Linked DNA regions of Homo sapiens: region 1 is linked to region 2. The links are contacts of gene promoters, found by promoter capture Hi-C in blood cells and fetal thymus (Javierre and others, 2016). All regions are on one chromosome and are shown on one strand. Each heading gives the region's core, a stretch centred on a gene start or on the middle of the fragment in contact. The rest is flanking DNA. Distances are from core to core; before and after follow the strand shown. Region 1 has its middle 4.6 kb from the start of RPP14. Region 2 holds the start of FAM107A (family with sequence similarity 107 member A).

Evidence for each region. Contacts are between HindIII fragments. The CHiCAGO score rates a contact against its expected background, and 5 or more counts as called.
Region 1: a fragment that was not itself captured here is called in contact with the fragment with the promoter of FAM107A in region 2 in 1 of 17 cell types (naive B cells); the score reaches 5.3 in naive B cells.

Annotation. Positions count from the first base shown.
Region 1 is chr3:58,298,401-58,304,825 of GRCh38, reverse strand. No RefSeq gene overlaps it. Among named protein-coding and RNA genes, the nearest start is that of RPP14, 4.6 kb to the left of the region's middle. The HindIII fragment of the contact is 2,909 bases long and covers 612-3,520 here.
Region 2 is chr3:58,573,731-58,579,988 of GRCh38, reverse strand. It overlaps FAM107A (family with sequence similarity 107 member A), which reads left to right and starts at 2,598. Exons shown (of 4, transcript NM_001076778.3): 1 at 2,598-2,680. LOC107984079 (a long non-coding RNA gene) reads right to left here. Exons shown (of 3, transcript XR_001740724.2): 3 at 1-365. The HindIII fragment of the contact is 9,093 bases long and covers 2,346-6,258 here.

The DNA.
Region 1 (6,425 bases), core at 817-3,316, 270 kb after region 2:
AGGAGAATTGCTTGAACCTGGGAGGTAGAGGTTGCAGTAAGCCGAGATCACACCACTGCACTCTAGCCTGGCAACAGGAAAAGAAACTGAGGCACAGAGAGGCTAAGTTATTTGCTCAAGATCACAGTTATAAGCAGTGGCATGGGCTGTCTGATTCTAGCCAGTGCTCTCCATACTGCACTGTATTACCACCAATTGAGGGGCTGCAGTGGGAAGGGAAACTTTAGTGTAACCCCCATGAGGATGGGGCCTTGTCTGTGTTTCTCACCACTGCATCCCAGTTCCTGGTACCCAATGGTGACCCAACATCTATTTACTGAAGGCATTTGTTCATAAATGGATGTGCTGGTTTTGCTTGGGTTGGGGGGCAAAGGGTTGCCTTGCACAGGACAGTTGAGTCAGCGGGGATCTCCTTCCTCAATTATTTTCTCAAAATCCCACTGTGTTGTTTCCAGAAGCTTCAGTCCTCAACCTTGGCCATGCTCTCCAGTTCTGTGGTTCCTACTTTCTTCTTCCTTCAGAGGAGACAGGGCTTGTTCCAGATGTGGGAAGAGGTGGAGAAAGCAAACACAGACCCCACAGACCCAAGTATTATCTTTCTCAAAAAAGCTTGATTTCAGAAGCTGCCAGAACTTGCTTCAAATGCATCCTCTGCCACTTACCTACCTCCCTCATCTGTCACATGGAGAGATTATTAGCATCTACCTCACAGAGTTGAGGGAAAAAGAGTTGATGGTATAAAGTGTCTGGCACCCCAGGAAACCCTCAGTAATGGGAGAGGGTTCCTGTAAGCCAGCTGCCTGGCAAATGTATCCTGCCAGGTGGCCCAGGAAAACCAGAGCAATTCCTGTATTTTGAACTTCAAGGAACAATAGATAATTTTCACCCTGCTGCAACAAACCCTGAAAATGAAGTGTCTTCCCAGTTGCCTGAATTCTCTCATGCTGTCTTATTAATTCAGAGCGGAGGATAAAAGAGATGCCTTTGAATGATAAAGACAAAAAACTTGTTTTTTGGCTGGGTGTTGTGGCTCAGGCCTGTAATCCAGCACTTTAGGAGGCCGAGGTGGGCAGAACACCTGAGGTCAGGAGTTCAAGACCAGCCTGGCCAACATGGCGAAACCCTGTCTCTACTAAAAATACAAAAATTAGCTGGGTGTGATGGTGCGCACCTGTAATCCCAGCTACTCGGGAGGCTGAGGCAGGAGAATTGCTTGAACCCAGGAGGCAGAGGTTGCAGTAAGCTGAGATCACGCCACTGCACTCTAGCCGAGATGACAGAGCGAGACTCTGCCAACAAACAAAACAAAACAAAAAACAAAAAAAAACTTTTGTTTTTCAACTAAATTTTATATTAAAAAATCGTTTTTGGACAGTGTCTCACTGTCACCCAGACTGTAGTACAATAATGTGATCATGGGTCACTGTAGCCTCAACCTCCCAGGCTCAACCGATCCTCCCACCCCAGCCTCCCAAGTAGCTGGGACTACAGGTGCATGCCACCATGGCCAGCTAATTTTTAATTTTTTTGTAGAAACAGGGTCTCACCATGTTGCTCAGGCTGGTCTTGAACTCCTAGGCTCAAGCGATCCTTCTGCGTTGGCCTCCCAAAATGCTGGGATTACAGGTGTGAGGCACTGCACCATGCCTAAATTTTATCTTCTGAATAGGTACTGTAGGCTTACAGCATACATTTCAAATGACATAAAGGGATAGATATTAAAAAGTGAGTCTCCCTTCCACCTCTTCCCCTGTCAGCCTCTCCCCTCTCCAGGAGCAACAACTAGTATGAGTTTCTTAAGTGTCCCCTGAAAAATATGATATGGGGGCTTTTACCTCTTGACGATGTATCTAAAATTGCTCCAAATCAAAACACACAAGGCTGCCTCAGTCTTTTTTTCTTTTTTTTTTTGGAGACAGGGTCTTACTCTGTGGTCCAGGCTGGAGTACAGTGGTGCAAACATAGGTCACTGCAGCCTCAAACTCCTGGGCTCAAGTGATCCTCCTGCCTCAGCCTCCAGAGGAGCTGGGACTACAGGCATGTGTCACCACACCTGGCTAATTTTTTTGATTTTTATTTTTAGAGAGGGGATCTTGCTATGTTGCCCAGGTTAGCTGCCTCAGTCTTTATGAAAGTTACCCTGTACTGCATTGGGTGGAGCCAGTTAGTTCTTAAGAGGACCATTTCAGGTACCCTCTGTGTTTCAGAGCAAAGTTGTTGGGGTCGGTCTCTATTTTATGTCCCTGAAAGGTACGGCAGCCAAGAATGAGTTAAGTCCACACTTCCCCTCTGCTGTGTGGCTCCCCTCCCTGCCTTACTTATTGGTGCCAAATGGATTTTTCTAAAGCTGAGGAGCTTTCTCAACTTGGGGAAGAAAAGGCAAGAGAGAAGGGTCCAAGTGAGATTCCAGTCCCCCTGTTCTCCATTGATTTAATGGAAAACACCCCCTATGTCAGCAGATTGTGGAGATAGGACAAAGGAAGTGAAAATGATCAGAAGTTAAAACCTATGGAACTGTAGCCATTGTTTCTGTTTCGAGAATAAGATCACATAGTTTAGGGAGATTTGCCAAGTACCAGCTAACTTGCTCACATTATTCCATCAACCATGCAATGTCACTATAATTACCACTTTTCACAGATGAAGAAAATGAAGCTAAGTCATTTATCTAAGGTGGTGAGAGGCTCCAGAGCCTAAAAAGCTGCATTCCATCCCTCCCATGTGGAAGACCAGTCTGGGAGCTGCTCCTTTGAGGCAACTCAAGTGTCATCAACTCAAGCGTCATCTCCAAACAAGAAACTCTGAAAAGCAGGCAGTGCTTTAGAATCCCTAGAAGCCAAGCCTGAGAGAGAGACCCTCACGGAAGTGATTTACTGGGAGATGGCCCCCAAGTGAAATCTGTAAGGGAGGAGGGAAGCAAGATAGGGCAGGAGAAGAAGCCAAGCAAAGATGTGGATTTGAAACCGGTCCAATCATCCCACAGAACTGATGCTTACGGTTTCTTTTGAGTATATGTAGAGATTGACCTTCTCATCTTAAAATTTGAGAAGTTACATTTGTCTTATCTGAGTTCCTTTCTCAGTAAACCAACCATGAGGCTTCCCAGGTAGTATCAAGGAGCTGAAACTCACCAGATCACTGCATTTGGACAATGACAGTCCAGACCCTTCACCCTTCATGACTGCCTGTCTCCCACGACCTGCTTTCTGTTGACCAACTCCCCTTCCTTATCCTTCCCTGATTCCTGTTTTCCTGCATTTGTTATATTTCTGCTGTATAAACTCCTAATTTTAGTCAGTCAGGGAGATGGATTTGAGACTGATCTCCCATGTCCACAGCAGCAGCTCTCAAAGAAAGCCTTCTTCCCTGGCAATATTCATTGTTTCAGTGATTAGCTTTCTCTTTGGTGAGCAGCAGGACCTAGAAGCAACACTTGGTGTTTCAGTAACAGATTCAGCTGAGTCTAGCCTCAGCTGGATCCCATGGGGAGTCCTGGAGCATAAATGATACTAAGGAAGCTTCTAGGCTTTGAGGCAAGGGGGCCAAGCCTTCTATAGGTGTCATTGGCTGCTACCTATAGGGTTGCCAGATTTAGCAAATAAAAATATAGGATAGGCCAGGCACGGCGGCTCATGTCTGTAATCACAGTGCTTTTGGAGGCTGAGGCAGGAGGATTGCTTGAACCCAGGAGTTCTTACCCGTATGTATGTGTGCAAATGCACAGAAATCCCAGTGGACTGACTGATGGGGGAAGGGTGGGGCTGTGCAGAGGGTGTAAGAGACTTTCATTTTTTCAGCAATCTTTTTGTTTGATTTTTTTTTTTGAGACAGAGTTTTGTTCTTGTTGCCCAGGCTGGAGTGCAATGGCACAATCTCAGCTCACTGCAACTTCTGTCTCCCAGGTTCAAGCTATTCTCCTGCCTCAGCCTCCCAAGTAACTGGGATTACAGGCATGCACCATCACACGGGGCTAATTTGTTTTTTGTTTTTCGTTTTGTTTTGTTTTGTTTGAGTCGGAGTTTCGCTCTTGTTGCCCAGACTGGAGTGCAATGGCCCGATCTCTGCTCACCTCCACCTCCACCTCCTGGGTTCAAGCAATTCTCCTGCCTCAGCCTCCAGAGTAGCTGGGATTACAGGCATGCGCCACCACGCCTGGCTAATTTTGCATTTTTAGTAGAGACAGGGTTTCTCCATGTTGGTCAGGCTGGTCTTTAACTCCCAACCTCAGATGACCTGCCTGCCTCGGCCTCCCAAAGTGCTGGGATTACAGGAGTGAGCCACTGCGCCTGGCCTAATTTTGCATTTTTAGTAGAGACAGGGTTTCTCCATGTTGGTCAGGCTGGTCTTTAACTCCCGACCTCAGATGATCTGCCTGCCTCGGCCTCCCAAAGTGCTGGGATCAGGTGTGAGCCACCGTGCCCGGCTGTTTGATTTCTTTTAAAGTGACAGCATCATTTTGGTAACACTAATAATTATTAAATAAAAAATCAGGACCTGCTACTTACGTAGTTAGGCACAAGAGGGAGCTGTGGACCACACCTATCTTGTTTGTTTTTTCTCTGCAAAAACAAGCAAAAATACAGAATTCCCAGTTAAATTTGAGTTTCAGATAAACAATGAGTGGGACATCTTTATACTAAAAATGTATTTGTTGTTTATCTGAAATTAACATTTAACTGGGCATCCTGTATTTTATCTGGCAACACTTGGACATAAGAGGAGAAAAGGTATAGCTTCGCAGGCACCTCCAGTCATCTGAGGGTGGCTCAACTGGGCAGCCAACCCAGCAGGTGGGGGGTGGATGCAGCAGTCAGTAAAGGGGACCTGGGAAGGACATAAGCACACCCGTTTCGGGCAGGAACTCTGGGGGCAGTGCACCAGACAATGGTAAAAAAGACTAAAAGCCCTTTCCTAGACCATCAAAACCACCCCCATCACCCAGGGAACAGCAAGACAGCCTGGTCCCCTGCCCCAGCACCCACCCCTCTGCCAGCAGCTACTGGAGGACATCTTTTCTCCTTCAGTCATTCCCCTGCTTGTCTGGGGGTTATAGCTGGAGCCATGCTGTTTAACTTTGTCTCACCCAGCATTTCTGAACTGTATTTAAATGACGGAGGAAACTTTCCTTGGAAGTGATCTTAGAAATCTCCCTCCTAAAAAAATGGCTCCAGGGCCCCAGGAAGGGAGATTTTGGGGAGGGGATAACGACCCTGTAATAAAGCAGCCCGTTTCTGGAGGGGCCTTAAATCCTTTCTTCAAATTCAGAGACCTTCTCCTGGGGGTTCAAAGAGGTCCTTACAAAGAGATTTGTACCCCGTTTTCTCTGGAGGACTCTGCATCCCTGTTATAGGAACCTGAGGGCTCTGTGGGTTTGGACCTAGAAGAGCTCCAGGGAAAAGAGCAGGAGGAGTGGGCAACAGTAATGTCTAGCATAGCCCCAATTGTGTTATAAAAAAAAAATCCACAAAGCCAACCAGTTTTACACTGCTTACCCGTATGTATGTGTGCAAATGCACAGAAACCCCAATGGACTGACTGATGGGGGAAGGGTGGGGCTGTGCAGAGGGTGTAGGAGACTCTCCTTTTTTAAGCAATCTTTTTGTTTGATTTCTTTTAAAGTGACAGAGCATCATTTTGGTAACACTAATAATTATTAAATAAAAATCAGGACCTGCTACTTACATAGTTAGGCACAAGAGGGATCTATGGACCTATCTATATGCTGCGCCTTCCATGCTGGAAGAAAAAAATGCCTCCTCAGCCCACCCCCAAGGCAGGAGAGCCGGACCTAGAAAGCAGGCTCCCATCCCTTATCTGAAATCCTAAAAAAAAAAAACAACTGGAAACCAAGTATCTTCATCCAGCGCCAATGCTTAATCTGAACTAAGGTGAGGCTTACAGCTTTTGTCCCACTTACTGTGGCTACACATACATTGCATGGCAGAAATACAAATGCATTTATTTGACCATGTGTGGTGGCCCCAGACCCTGCAGAGGGCATCACATGATACATGGTATACACACTGTGATACCTTTCCAGGTCGAAACGCTTCTGAATTCAAATCACGTCTGGCCTGAGAGCTTTGGGGAGGGGTTGTCTTGGCAGCCACCTTTCCAGTTGTCCTTCAGGAAGTCACCTGCCCCCGACCCAGCCAGCTTTGGCCTTTGGTCATTGGAATTGTTACCCCCTTACTGCCCCTACGAACTCTTCCTTCTTCCACCCCCTGCTGCAGCTCCTGGTATGGCCTCAGATGCCTGTTCATTGCCTTGAGGATTTAAAGACCCTAAGATCCAGAAACCAATGAAGGGAAGGTTCCTCCAGGAGCCAAGAGAGAGGGACTGTCCTGTTGCTGAAAGGAGACCCGAGCAGTCACCTGTCCTCTCCCTCTGTCCCTCTGCCAGACTAGGCTGATGATGGTCACAAG
Region 2 (6,258 bases), core at 1,349-3,848:
CGGTGTCTTCAGGTTAACAATAGTTATTGAGCCCCTCAGTACTGGGACAGGAAGATAGGTAGGTACCTGCCCTGGGGCTAGCAGTCTGATGGGTTTGTATACAAGTTGGACTGTGAGAAGAGTTTTTGTGGGAGAAGCACAGTGACTCCCAACTGCCCACGGAAAATGACGCCCAACATCCGAGGACTACTGCCCAGTTCTCCTTGGCTGTCAGGTGCGTGTTCCTCTGAAGTGTACCAGGTGATGGGCTTCTGTCTTCTCCGGGGATGAGCAGGAGCTGTCAGAAGTTCCCCCGCTCCAGGATCCTTCTTACTCTCCAACTGTTAGAAGGCACTGGGATTGGTTCATCTGAGCCACCAAAGACCCTAGGAAATATTCAAAATACTTCTTTGCAGAGCAGGAGGATGTGTGCAAGGAACCAGGGTCAGCAAAGAGTGGTTTGACAAGAATCTAGCTGTCCTCTTCTACCAGGAGAGTTTGGGGAAGTTAAGGCAGAGCAGGGTGGGAGGCTGAGGGGGCTACCATTCATAGTGCCTCAAGAAATGCAGAATTGGGGAAGAAGAAAAAAAGGGACCACACATTGTTTCCAGAAAATTGTTTTATACCCAAGAATTTAGGACCCTCTTAGTTTAAGTGGCTCGAGAATGGTCAGCGTGGCCAAGACTCCCTGGACATGCCTGCCCTGTCCCTCCCACTCCACCCCTGTCTCCCACCTCCCTCACTCCCAAGATGGCACCCAGCCTGCCTTTACATCACACCAGGATCCACCCAGTCTGGGCCTTTCCACTGGCTCTTCCCACCCTACGAAGACTCTCCCATGTGTACAGACTTCACACAACTGACTCCTTGTGATTCTGCTACCCTAAAACACCACCCGCTCTCACCTCACCCAGCCTTGCGTTCATCACGGCATTCCTCACTGCCTGACGTCATCCTGAATGTCCCCTTCTTTACTGTGTGTCCCCCTTGAAGGTAGGTTCCCTGACAGCAGGGATATTACCTGTGTCATTCACATGGTACCCCCAGCACTTAGAACAGTGCCAGGAACACAGTAGGAATTAAATAAATGTTTGTTAAATGAACAAATAATATAGGCCAAAGAAGACACAAGGTTGCCTTGTTAAAGCCTCCATTCACCTGTGATGCATGTCCTAGGCCTCATCACCTTCTAGCCAACCAAGACTCCATGAGAAAGTAAAGTTGGGGTGGAGGCCTGGTCTAACTGGTAGACCCCAGCTTCCTCACTGGGGAACTAGGATGACACTAAACGATAGAAAACACTTCCAGCTTTTCAAGTGAAAGCTGATTCTGAAATTAGGAGAATGCCTCCATTATCTATAAGCATCCAGGCTGGCCTTAAGGATCTACATACATTTTTTACTTTTCTTGGGTTTTTTTGTTTGTTTGTTTTTTGGGTTTTTTTGAGACAGTCTTGCTCTGTCACCCAGGCTGGAGTGCAGTGGCCCAATCTTGGCTCACTGCAAACTCTGCCTCCCAAGTTCAAGCAATTCTCCTGCCTCAGCCTCCCAGGTAGCTGGGATTACAGGTGTGTGCCACCACCCCTGGCTAATTTTTGTATTTTTAGTAGAGACAGGGTTTTACCATGTTGGCCAGGCTGTTCTCAAACTTCTGACCTCAAATGATCTGCCTACCTCAGCCTCCCAAAGTGCTGGGATTACAGGCATGAGCTACCATGCCTGGCCTACTTTTATATTTTACATTCACATGTTCATTCATTGAGCCACTACTTATGGAACACATATTCTGCCAGGCAAAATGCACCATGCTGGGCTCTGGCCTCAGATCACGTAGAGTCCAGGTCTCTCTTGGAGAAAAGTCCTATATGCTGAGCTTTGACTATGTGCTTCACTAATGTCATCTCATCCATGTCATCTCCCAACCACCCTGGTATGCTCCACATTTGACAAACACAGAAACCAAGACACAGAGACACTGAGTGGCTGCTGAAGGGGCTGGTGCTGGAGCCAGGGCCAACACATGAGCCTGCTGAGACCCAGACACGGTGCATCCCCTCTCCCACGCTCTTCCGTTGGCTCCTCTGTGAAGTTCCAATGACATTCAAGGTATCAGGAAAACGCTGTGTACGGAGTTTCTGACCCATTCGTGGATAATTAAGAACTGACCCAATGCTGAGCAGTTTCCCCTCCCTTTACACCCCACCCTTTTCCCCCCAGAGCCATTTTCTCCTGAAGAATCCACACCACTGCCTCAGGAAGCTTGGCTTCCCCTCCCATGGGGAAGTGCTGGAATCCACTCTTGCCTGACCCTCCCATAAGAAACAAGGGAAATTCCTTTACGTGAGCCGCCTTGCTCAGAACAAAGCTTGGCGTGTTTCTTATTCCTCATCAATCTGACAAAATGGGTATTTATTTGTGCCTCTCAAGCGTGTGGCTTGGACATGATGTTCCGCATCGTGGAAGTGGCCGTGCACCAAGTGGAATATCTGTTACTATAGTAACAGTTCCTTTTTATTGATACCAGAATAAACAGGAATGCAAAGGCTGTCTCACTTGTTGGCACATTTCAGCAGCCTCCGTTCCCAGGGGTTTAAGAACCGCCCTCTAGAGGCAGCCCTCCTTGCTAGTCTGGGACTTCCCGGTGGAGTGAGGAACCCAGCAACACGCTCCTGACTTCCCTTCCCAAGGACTCGACCTGAGAAGTAAGACCATCTCTGTTCTGTTTCATCTGCTGTTGAGAGCGGTGCCGTTCGGGAGGAGGTGGAAGGGAAGGAGGGCAGACCCGGTACACTGAAGTGGGCTGTCAGTGGACCTGAGTGCTTTGAGTTTAGGTACCCGGGCTATGTCCCAGCATCCATAAAATGATACGGGAGATGCCTCCAGGCACCCTGGGTTTCGGAAAAGGGTAGGAGACAAAGAAGCGAGCCCCCTGGCATAGCCCTGCATTCTTGTTGATCTTTTTCTGCTGCATCCTCAGGTGAATCTGAATTAATGCATGATATAGCCTCACCTAAGTCAATTATCACACAGTATGGGGGTTTAATTCTCAGCACAACAGACAGAACACAGATTTCAGCTTCAGAGTTTGGCTCAGATTCAAGCTCTTTCCTTCACCGGCTGTGTGATTTGGGGAAATCAGATGACTTCCCTGAACTTCAGTTTCCTTGACTGTAAAAAGAGGATAATAACAGTACCCACCTCTTCAGTCTGTCGTAAGAATTTCATATTTCATGAGATATGGCTGCTAGGTGCTTAGCACAGTGCATGGCACATAGTGCACGCAGGTTAACGTGTGAAGGGCCTGCCTTTCTGGTGAATTTGGCTTTAGGACTTTGCAATACAAGGCAAGTCTGAGATTGGGCCAGAAATCAAGAGCTGTAGGATTGGGTGTGTCACTTTTTGAAACTGCTACCAAACCCAAGTAGCTTTGAGCTTCAAGGCAGCCCCCACGCCTGCATCTCTGGGTGGCTTAGATCCTGAGTGGCCCTCTTAGTTCTGTTGGTGGTGAGTACCTGCTGGAATTTTCCCTGCAGAGGCATCTGCCAGGTAAAGTGGCTGACATCATGCCACTAATGAGCCAGCAGGGATTCCAGGTCTGCTGATGCTTGTTCCAGATCAACTGCACAATGCTGTCCACTAACCTTGCTAAGTATCCTCCATGTCTAGCCCTGGACTCTGCTATTTAATTGGTTCAAAATCCTAAATGTCCACCCAACATTCTCCTTCCGAGGTAGGAAGTTGCAACGGACCTGAGGCAAAATGTTCAGGAAGTCAGCCTTGAGTCATTGCATCCAAATGGACAAGCAGCTCTGCTGGGGGCTTCCGAGCATCGACCAGAAGCTGCTGGGAGATCTGGAGGTGGCTCCGAGATACACTGTTCTTTGGCTGCTGGCCAGTGAAATACAAATAGGCACTTTCCCCATGGAGAGGAAAAAAGCCAGAAGGGTCAGGAAATCCAGTGACCGTGCTTGTCACTTTTACTGAATGCCTGTTTTTCCTTTGCCAGTCGTTATTTTGAAAGCCTCTCTTCTCCTCTGCCCTGGCATCCCATTAAATGCTGAACCAAGAGGGTTCTGAATGTGTTCGGAACCCAGCAGCTTGAACAGTAATGAGGAAGTGGGGGCACAGGAGGGAAGGCCACCAGCTGGTCCTCTCCTAAACAGAGACCAGCCTGAGGCCAGACAGGCCCGTGGACTCTAGCTTAAGCCCAAAGCTGCTAGGGCCAGGCTGGGGCTCCCCAGTGAGAGTTTGCATTTCACGTAGGCTAGGAGTCCTCAAGTTAGCAGGCCTCCATGTTCTTATCTATAAAATGGGCTCACACAGCCTCTTCATTGGGGTTTCTTGACTATCTAGAGAGAGAAAAGGGACATAACCCTGCTTTGTCAACTAAAAGACATTTTGCACCTTGAAGACAGTGGAGAGGTAGAAAGAGCATTGAATTTGGCGTCCAAGGTCCTGGCTTTGCTGCTTACTCTCTGTGTATCGAGACAAGTAGCTTGGCCTCTCTGAGCCTTAGTTTTCTCATCTATAAAACAGGGTACCACTGGCTGCCTCCAAGGGTGATTTAGAGATCCAGATCAAATTCTAGTGGTGACCACAGGGTTTCTTCAGGACAGAAGTACCATAGTTTGTCTTCGGTGAGCATCACTCTGCCAGGCGCTGGGCTAAGCACATCATGCCATTGTATCACTTCACCCTCCAAACTGCTCCATGAATAGGCTGTTATCCTTGCTGTATAGAGGCTCAGAGAGGTTAAGCTACTTGCCCAAGGTAACACAGCTGGGAAGGATTGCCACCATGAATCAAACCCACTCTGTCTCCACTAAAACATCTGCTTTAACCATTGCTTTACTGGCTTATGTGTCATTTGTTACAACTGATGCCATCGAAGACAGAAACATGACTACCAGAACAGTGGAGAGGCAAGTGGAAGGGACACTGAGGCCTTAGACAGCCTGGGGTCCCATGGCTATTGTCAAGACGAACTGGGCCCCGAGACTCCATCAGTGCAGCTCTCCTTCTGTCTCTCCTTACTCTCTCCTGTGGCTGCAGGCACCAGTGTTTGGTTTCAAATCTGCCACCCTGCATTAGCCATGCATGCCCCAGTGGCCCGGTGCACTCTCCGTGGGAGCAGCAGTGATCTCTGCTGAGCCTTGCCTGGTGTGGGGCCAACATCCTGTGGAGCCTGTGGCAAGGAGCTCTGGGACCTCTTGGGTCACCAACAGAACCAGGGAGGAACCAAGCAAGGGGTTCCAAATCTTTCCTCAGACCCCTTATTATCCCCACCCCAGGAAAAACAACATCAGTCCCATAAACTGCATATTGAGAATTATTTGCCATCCTATAGTCATGCAAGACACTCAATAGCTGTCGCCTACTGGTGGCCTCCACCCCATGCCCAGCTCTTTAGCTCATCCAATCTTCACAGCATCACAATTCTACAGAGGAGCATCCCAGAGGTTAGAGACCATCCCAAGATCACACAGCTGCTAAGAACTGTGACCTTAATCAGATTTGCTCACAATAACCAGGCCAACTACAGTCAGCTGAGATCCTTCAGGACCGAAGCAAATAAGTTTGTGTTTTGGGTTTTTAACTCCATGGTTTGCAAAGTTGGCTGACTCTAGGAATCACCTAGGGAGCTTTTAAAAATCCCCAAAGCCAAGCCGCCCCCCAAACCCATTAAATCAGAATCCCTGTGGTGGGACTCAGGCACTGGAATTTTTGAAACTTCCTGTGGTGATGCCGATATGCAGCCAAAGTTAAGATCCACTGATTTAACCAGTGTGGTTTCTGAGGATGAGAAGGCTCCATCTAGGACTAGGAATGGGATTTATTAATAGTGATTGTTAATAGCAGCTAACAGGGTGGTCACACTGCCATTCCAGGGGCACCATTCACAGTTTAATCTATAGGAGTTGAGGACTTGCTGTGAGGTACCCAACCAGCCTGTTGTATGTGGCAGCCCTGGTAGCCAGCCCCAAGCGCTCAACTCTGTACGAGGCATTTGCCAAGCACCTTGCAAGTATCACCTCGTTTATGATATCACAAGTTCATGGAGGAGGATTCTAATGTAACGCTCATTTTGCAGAGGAGGAAACACCAGATCAAAAGCAGCTGTCCCATCTCAACTCTGCTGTTCAGTGGGAAACAGCCATAGACAATAAGTGGGCGTGGTGTGTCCCAGGGCTGTGGGATTTGGTCCAAAGGCTGTAGTTTCCAGGCTCCAGCTCCAGAGGGTAGGGAGGCATGGACAGAGCTGACATTCGAATGCAAGTCT